Regions from separate parts of the Homo sapiens genome. Here regions 1 and 2 are each linked to region 3. Evidence: promoter capture Hi-C in 16 types of primary human blood cells and fetal thymus (Javierre and others, 2016). All regions are on one chromosome and are shown on one strand. The core of a region is centred on a gene start or on the middle of the fragment in contact, and the rest is flanking DNA. Distances in the headings are between cores, read along the strand shown. Region 1 has its middle 6.9 kb from the start of NIPBL-DT. Region 2 overlaps RANBP3L (RAN binding protein 3 like). Region 3 holds the start of AMACR (alpha-methylacyl-CoA racemase).

Region 1 (2,883 bases), core at 264-2,763, 2.9 Mb before region 3:
AGGAACAAATTACTCCCTGAAAATGGTGGAAACTTCTTTCTCCCTCCGAAAAATAAACTTTCAATAAGTGTTTTCTCTCTAGCCAAAGTAAATAAGTTCTTAAATAGGTAACTCTCATTTGCCATCCAACTCATTCTATATATTTAAATAAATGTACTTACACTTGTGTATAGGATTTAAAAGGGGGAAACTTAAGAAGGAAGAAATTGTGTATAGAATTTAAAAAGGAGGCATTATATTGCATGAGTAGAATGAAAAGTATCTAACCAGAAAGCAAATAAGTTAAGGATTATATTATACTGAAATATTTTAATACAATTTAAATATTTCATTACTCTTTCACTTTATTTGCTATTTGTAGATTTCAGTATTGTAATGTTGGCAAGTCTATTTAAGACGGCATTAATAAAAATTTTGTTTTTCAGGCATGTGATACCAAGTCCCTTTCCATTATAGATAAGTAAGGCCTAGGTTGGTTAAAACCTTAGCTAAACACAAAATTTGCTAGAGAATCAACATATAAGAAGCTCTAACTCCAAGCTTATTCACCCCAGATATTTCACCAATGTTAACACATACCCTATTGAACTAAGAAAGGAATTATATTACTAACCAGCAGAGGGAGCCAAGTCAATCATGAAAGGTAGGAGTATAAAGGAACATCATATGACTTCCTGTTTTGAATTTAACTGTATGGCCCCTGCTCACTTTTTGAGTTTACCAAAAAGACAGTCATAAGGAGAGAAAGGCGACCAATGTATCAAATAAGGATACAGTGACAATTATAACTTAGAATTACCTTGCAGGAAATAAATTGGAAGAAAAATTGAATGCAGAACTATACAAGTGAAATGTCTCAGTATTATAACCCAAGATGGAAAAACCATGGAAAACAGTACCTTAATGCCATGATGAATTGCTAGCCAAATGTAACAGTGAATATTTCTTAATAATTCCATTTTCACTTAAAGTTGAAATTAGGCCATAAATAGACACATTTTAAAACTATAAAGTTGTACATCAAATTTATGTGCATTTAATCTAAGAAATAAGGGATAAAATTTAATAAAAAATTATTACAGTGAATTAATAAGGACATGATTTTTCAGCTTAAAATTAGAGAACAGAATTGTTTCCACTACTGTTTATAAACACAACAAATAAAGTAATATCTGTTTTGTGAGAGATGTTTGGAGGAATCTAGTAGCTAAGTGATTATGTCAGTTTATTTAATTTTGTCTAAGAACTTCAAAATGCCTGATAGAATGGGTGCATATTGAATGAATAGATGTGATCTATATATTATTTGAAGTAAAAGTATAAGAGCTGAGCGTTAGCTAACTGCATCAAAATAAATGTAAAGACCCAAACATTTTTAGTTGAATAACCAAATGAATTAGCTAGTCTAGCCCCTTACTCGTTTCAAGGTTTGTGGAAACATACCATATATACTTTTACTCATGTGTTTATTCCTTTCAAAAATATACTTCTTAAGCACTATCTCCATAGGACGTGGAGCATATCTTCATTATGAAGTAGACAAACTTCTTAAATTTTATTGAAAGATTTAATTTCATTGATATATGAACAATCATACAAATTCAGTATGCCACCAGTGATTTCAAGAAAGTGATACTTAGAAGCAAATCATTTATGGGACTAGACTGCCTTTGTAGGACTAACAAATTAGGCACAAGATTAGAAATTATAGTTTAATAGTCATGCAGCTGGAGGCTACACGATTCTGACCCTCCCTAACCTGCTCCTAAGATCAGTGCTTGAGATATTCTGCAGACCCTGCACTTGATGGATCAGCTGGCACCACCCAGATCAATAAACTGGCTCATCTGATCTTGTGGCCACCACCCAGGAACTGATTCAGAGCAAGAGGACTGCTTCAATTCCCTATGATTTCATCTCCAACCCAACCAATCAGCACACTCTATTCACTTGCCTTCCCCCACCCACCAAATTATCCTTAAAAACTGATCCCCAAATGCTCCAGGAGACTGATTTGAGTTATAATAAAACTCCGATCTCCAGCCAAAAAATAAAAAATAAAAAGCAAATTATTTGATTTTGAGTACTAGAAAGTAGACTTTAAACTTTTTGAAGGGTATATTCTTTTATAATGCTATATTATACTGGCATTATTTTATAAATTGGCATTTGGTGTCAAGTCAGTTAATCACAGCGATAATATCCAAGATGTACAGCTCATCAGTCCTAGAGACATTTTTTTTTGTTTGTTTAAGACAGAGTCTCTGTCACCCAGGCTGGAGTGCTGCAGTGGTGCGATCTCGCCTGCCTCGGCCTCCCAAAGTGCTGAGATTACAGGCGTGAGCCACTGCGCCCAGCCTAGAGACATTTTAATGCCAAAAAACCCTCAATGCCACCAGTATTACTACTTCTAATTATTTGTTTCCTTTACACACGAGTTGTGATGAATATGGGCTATTAGAATTGCATAAACAGCCTAAGCTTTTAAATGTTTCCACTCATGAAAAATAGCTATTATGAACTTTTAAACATTAAATTAATAAAGTGCAATAGCTTTACCATGAACTATTCCTTATTGATAAACATAGTAATGGGTTAACTCATGTCAAAGTCCAATAAAAACTAGTAACTTTGTCACCAAAGTCAACATTTCAGCATCTATGATATGTAGTATAGGTATTTCTGTTTTATCTAGTTTTCATTTAATAATCTAAAAGATTCTGGCCGGGCACGGTAGCTCACGCCTGTAATCCCAGCACTTTGAGAGGCCGAGGGAGGCAGATCACGAAGTCAGGAGATAGAGACCATCCTGGCTAACATGGTGAAACCCCGTCTCTACTAAAAATACAAAAAATTAGCCGGGCGTGGTGGTGGGCGCCTGTA
Region 2 (2,713 bases), core at 153-2,652, 2.2 Mb before region 3:
ATTTTAGGATTCAATTTGGTTCAAGATTGTCTTTTTACTGCTTAATTTTTAGGGTTGTTAGCACCTATGTACACTGTAGATTTATGCCATGTAATTCCTTCCTTATTAGTAGTGAAAGATTAAAAATCTGTAAAATGTAGCTAACATATTAATGATTTTCTTAACAATTTAATGTTCCTCATGCAGGCCAGTGCCCAAGATACAGCATATTTGTATGCAGCAATACATCATCGTCTTGTTGCACTTCAAAGCTTCAATAAGCAGAGAGATGTCAATCAAGCTGAAAGCCTGTCAGAAACAGCCCAACAATTGAACTGCGAAAGCTGTGATGAGAATGAGGATGATTTCATCCAAGTCACTAAAAATGGATCAGGTAAATAGCTTTTGTTTTGTTAGTTCAGAGGTTTAAAAAAGAATTCTTAAGCACGATCCTAATATATTAGGTAGATTTTTTAACAAGTGGAACTGCTCTGTTTAAAGTTAGTGGTGGCTAGAGCCTTAGTTGTTTGGATCTGAGGAGTGGGTTTGAAAATCACTGTCTTCTATAAGTGGTCTTCATTTTATCAAGTCAGCTTCATGGTGATGCCTATGTCATTTGCTTATAAACTGCATAAAAAACTATTACATTGCTACCCTGAAATTAACCCTTCATTTTTATTTCTCTTCACTTATTTTCATTTTATTATTGGCTATACTAGGAAGAATTATAAATACATATAATAAGCCCACTTGGTAAACTTGGCTTGATACCCTGAAAATTCGTTTATTCCCTTTTTAGAATTTGACTGCTTGTAAGAATAACTAGATTGTACAAATACTATTTTCAAGGACCTATTTTATCTAGGGGAAAAAGTACTATTTCTTTTATTGTATCAGGATTCACAAATAAAGTAAGGTTGAAGTGGAATCAGTGATAAACAGACTGTTAGGTTTTAGTGCTTATCTTGATATGTGGATTTAAAACTAATATTCGTACTTCTCTTTGGAGAAAAACAATGTCAAACATAGTAAGCTCAACTTTGTTATACAGATGTAATTATTCCAATAAAAGTCATCCAAGCGTTTTCACTAACAGTTTCACTTAGTCCTGAATTCTGTTTTACAGAGGACTGAGTAATACAATTACAACGATAGTGTGGTAACAAGCATTTTTTTCAACTCTTAATCATTTTGAAATATTAAAGCTGCTTTAATCATATGTAATTTAAGAATCTATCAAAGAACGTACATAACTGGATGAAATATCTTCCTTTGCTTAATATTAAAGCTATAATCAAAAGGAAAAATACACAAAACATGCAGATCAGTATTATAACCTGCTTGACCCAGTGATTCAGAAAACTAAGTGAATATGATTTTTTTTGCTACTTTAAGCAAATCTATTAAACAAATGGTTTATTAGTCTTTAAAACATATAAAATAAAAAAATCTTTTATTTTATAATAATGTTTACACTGCCAACAATAAAATGGGGTCTATCAGAGAACTAGTTGGTACACATTAACAATGTCAATTTGAAATAAGGATTAAATAGCAAATTCTCTCACTAACTAATGACACATGTTTATGATATCTATATTCTGTTATATTCCATTTTAGGAAAGGGGTGCTATGTAACTATCTTAATAAAAAACAATGAAAATAAGGCAAAGCAAATGTCAATCATATGAACCCCCTTTCCCCTGCCATTTTTTCCCATTTTCACTTAGTATCTTCTCCAGGAGGCAGTAAAAACAAATGCTAAAATGTTATGGAAGCAATAAAAGGTCTAATTTTTTGCACTTTGTTGCTTATAAATTATCTAAAAGAGGCATGATTAAAATTTTAGCAACATCTCTAAATGTTGCTTGTAAAAATGTATATTCTGTAGCTTTTATTTCATCACCAATGAGTATATTCATTAATATTCATGTTTAGTTGCATTCAATATTAAAAATCTACCCTAAATATAATATTGTATAATAAAACATTTTAAATTTATATCACAGATCCTTCTAGTTGGACTCACAGACAGTCGGTTGCCTGTTCATGAATACTACCTACTATAAACATGACATCTACAAAAAGAGGGGTCACCCTACTGAAAATACTAAACCACCCTAACTAATGAGAAGATTCTATTCATTCCTTGAAGAGTTTTTATAGAAAAGTTTAAGAAATGTAATTTGTTGCAATTAACATTTTTATGTTTTACATTTTACATTTTGATTATTGTGCAGAAACTGACAGAATTTAAAAAAATGGACTTCAGAAGTTCAAAATTTATCATTTTTGAAGAAGTTTATTTAGAATAGGATTTTATAACTAATTTGGACTCTTCATCACATTGATGGATATAATACTTAGAATTATAAATTGCTAGATTTGATAAATACCTAACAAAATGTTTATTTTTTTCAGTCATACTTGACCACAAAACAAATATTTTACTAAATTTCCAGAGTCATTTCTCTGAAAAATAGTATAATGGCATGATAACATTTCACTAAATCCTATTTATCTTCTGGGAAATATTTTAATTTAGCTTTTGGATTTCCTAATATGATAAGCTTATATATTCATGGTATGAATTCCTTTAAAAAGAGCATCTGCTCTTGGACTTGTATCTGTTGCATCTTGTCAATGTTTGACTCATGGTCAGCATCCAATAGTTGTTAAATGAATAAATAAAATATAATACATTACCTATGTATCAAAAAGCATGTGTAAGAAA
Region 3 (2,700 bases), core at 162-2,661:
TATAGTAGTTTTATAGTTTTGGGTTGTATGTCTTAAGTTTTTTAATCCATTCTGAGTTGATTTTTGTGTATGGTGAGGGATAGGGGTCTAGTTTCATTCTTCTGCATATGGATTTCCAGTTTTTCCAGCACTACTTATTGAATAGAATGTCCTTAATATATGTTCTTGGTGTTTTTATTGATAATCAGCTGGCTGTAAATATATGGATTTATTTTGGGGTTCTTTATTCTGTTCCATTGGTCTTTGTGTCTATTTTATGCCAATAGAATGCTGTTTTGGTTACTACACCTTGGTAGTATAATTTGAATTCTGGTAGTGTGTTGCTTCCTGCTTTGTTCTTTTTGTTCAGTGTTGCTTTGGCTATTCAGGACCTTTTGTGGTTTTATACAATTTTTTTTTCTATTTCTATGAAGAGAAAGCCACAGAGTCCTAAAATAATTCTAAAACTCATCATGACTTTCTTGCCTAAAAGATCTTGATTTCAATCGTGCCTAGTTTTGCTTTAATCACTTGCTTGAGAAATACATAAATCCCCACTTAAGATTAGTGCAGGCATATCTCTGGCACCCATTTCTGGTTCTATTAAAATTCCTAGAGATGTCAAAAATTACATTAGGCCACCTGACAGGCTATACCTAGAAGAGAAAAAATGATTTGTAAAAGCAGTGGGGCTATTTGCGATTGCTTTTTTTTTTTCTTAAATATCACCTATTAGGTTGAAAACCTGAAATTGCAGCTTTCTGTAGAAATGGCGGAAGACAAACTAACATTTTTAAAGCGCTCTCATTTAGCTCTGATGAGTACTACACCCCTGATATTCTTCTGATACTAAAATAATTTTCCTAGTGTAGTCTAAACTTTTTTAAAAAGACATGTAATCCGCGGAGTTTGTAACTCAAAACGAGTGCATCTAGGAGGTATCGCAAGCCGTTTCTGGATTAAATTCCCAGCTAGCTAGCTAGCTAAGCAGGGGCGGTGAAGAAGACAATCTGCAGCCTAGGGAAGAAAACGCTTTCGCATTGTTCTTACGTGTTTACGTTATTTTATTTCCCTAGAGCAAGGCAGGAGTAGGGACTCGAATGGTACAGTTGGGCTGGGGATCGCCCTGGTACAATAAAAGCGTCCAGAGAGGACGGTAACAGGCAGGAGCTCCAAAGGTCAGTCCCTGCAATTTAAGACTCAGGAATTTAGGTTGCACAAAAAGGAAAGCAACCTACTGCATTTGGCACTGGCGGTCCCGGGAGGCCGGGGGTGGGGAAGCGCCCAGTGCGCAGACTCCGCGGGCTTGCGCAGGCCCGCAAAAGAGGGACGGGGGTGGTGCCTTTGGGGCGCGGCGCCGCGGCTGGGGGCGTGGCGCCGGGGATTGGGAGGGCTTCTTGCAGGCTGCTGGGCTGGGGCTAAGGGCTGCTCAGTTTCCTTCAGCGGGGCACTGGGAAGCGCCATGGCACTGCAGGGCATCTCGGTCGTGGAGCTGTCCGGCCTGGCCCCGGGCCCGTTCTGTGCTATGGTCCTGGCTGACTTCGGGGCGCGTGTGGTACGCGTGGACCGGCCCGGCTCCCGCTACGACGTGAGCCGCTTGGGCCGGGGCAAGCGCTCGCTAGTGCTGGACCTGAAGCAGCCGCGGGGAGCCGCCGTGCTGCGGCGTCTGTGCAAGCGGTCGGATGTGCTGCTGGAGCCCTTCCGCCGCGGTGAGCCCGGGCCCCGCGGGCTGCTCTCGGGAAGTTCCCGCGGAGGGGAGGGGCCTGGCCGTTCGATCGAGGCTGCACCCGCCACACCTTTGCCCTGTTGCCGCAAGAACCCTTGTCGGCCCCAGCCTTCCAGATTTTTGCCTCCTAGGGTATTGTTAGTGATCATTCTTCCCAAACTGGATTGTCCAAAACTTGGGTTCTGAGATACTGCTGTTGCCCGGTTTCTCCTTTTGCCTCTCTGACTCCTTCCCAAATTCCTCCTTTTTTTTCTAAGAAACGTTCCGTATTTGCCTTTCTTAATTAATTGAGGGTCTTGAACCCTGTGAGAATCTAATGAAAGCCATAGGATTCCCTTCCTGGAAAACTGCATATAGGCGGTCATTCGGCTACCGTTTTGGAGTGCTGTACCCTCAAGCCATCCACGGGCCCAGGCTAACGCTCCTCCCTGCCTGAAATGCTGGCGTTCTAAGTCTCAGCATCTGCTCCCTGAAGCCCAGTTACCCATTCCCATCATTTTCACCTTTTTGTAGACTTCCCCCTTTCAGAGCGGCAGACGCTGGCATACACAGGTCCTGGGCATCGCCGTCAAGGCTGCCCGCCAGGCAGCTTCCACAAATCCCAAAATGAGCCTTTCCTTCTTCCTTCTAAAACAGCATCTCCACCTTCTGTATTATTTATTTCAGTGAATGCCTGAATCTCAAACTTGTACTTCATCATGGACTCCAGTCTTCCTTTCACATCCAATTTCAATGATCATCAATACAGTCATTTTGCTCCTTAGCCCACTCGGACTATTTCTCTCCATACCTGCTGCAACTGCCTTGACACTGGTGTGACAGCCTTTTAAAAACTGGTGTTTGGGGCTGGTATCACTCCAGTGGATTCTCAGACAGCTGCCAGAATAACTTTGTTCAAGTAGAAATCCAAAGCATTGCCTGGTCTATAGTGGGAAATCGGTAAATGGTGAATGAATGAATGCCTACGGCACAGCCGGCTTATTTAAATGCGTTAA

What was found. Contacts are between HindIII fragments. The CHiCAGO score rates a contact against its expected background, and 5 or more counts as called.
Region 1: a contact is called between a fragment that was not itself captured here and the fragment with the promoter of AMACR in region 3, in 1 of 17 cell types (non-activated CD4 T cells). The highest score is 5.0, in non-activated CD4 T cells.
Region 2: a fragment that was not itself captured here is called in contact with the fragment with the promoter of AMACR in region 3 in 1 of 17 cell types (activated CD4 T cells); the score reaches 6.1 in activated CD4 T cells.

The regions. Positions count from the first base shown.
Region 1 is chr5:36,868,375-36,871,257 of GRCh38, reverse strand. No RefSeq gene overlaps it. Among named protein-coding and RNA genes, the nearest start is that of NIPBL-DT, 6.9 kb to the left of the region's middle. The HindIII fragment of the contact is 1,941 bases long and covers 543-2,483 here.
Region 2 is chr5:36,248,973-36,251,685 of GRCh38, reverse strand. RANBP3L (RAN binding protein 3 like) reads left to right here. Exons shown (of 14, transcript NM_145000.5): 13 at 187-373; 14 at 1,989-2,713. The coding sequence ends at 2,032. The region is part of intron 1 of LOC124900962 (a long non-coding RNA gene); the gene reads right to left. Among named protein-coding and RNA genes, the nearest start is that of NADK2, 8.4 kb to the right of the region's middle. The HindIII fragment of the contact is 2,298 bases long and covers 254-2,551 here.
Region 3 is chr5:34,006,761-34,009,460 of GRCh38, reverse strand. AMACR (alpha-methylacyl-CoA racemase) reads left to right here and starts at 1,411. Exons shown (of 5, transcript NM_014324.6): 1 at 1,411-1,688. The coding sequence starts at 1,442. All of the region lies in intron 6 of C1QTNF3-AMACR (C1QTNF3-AMACR readthrough (NMD candidate)), which reads left to right. RefSeq lists a silencer at 1,195-1,274. The HindIII fragment of the contact is 12,530 bases long and covers 1-2,700 here.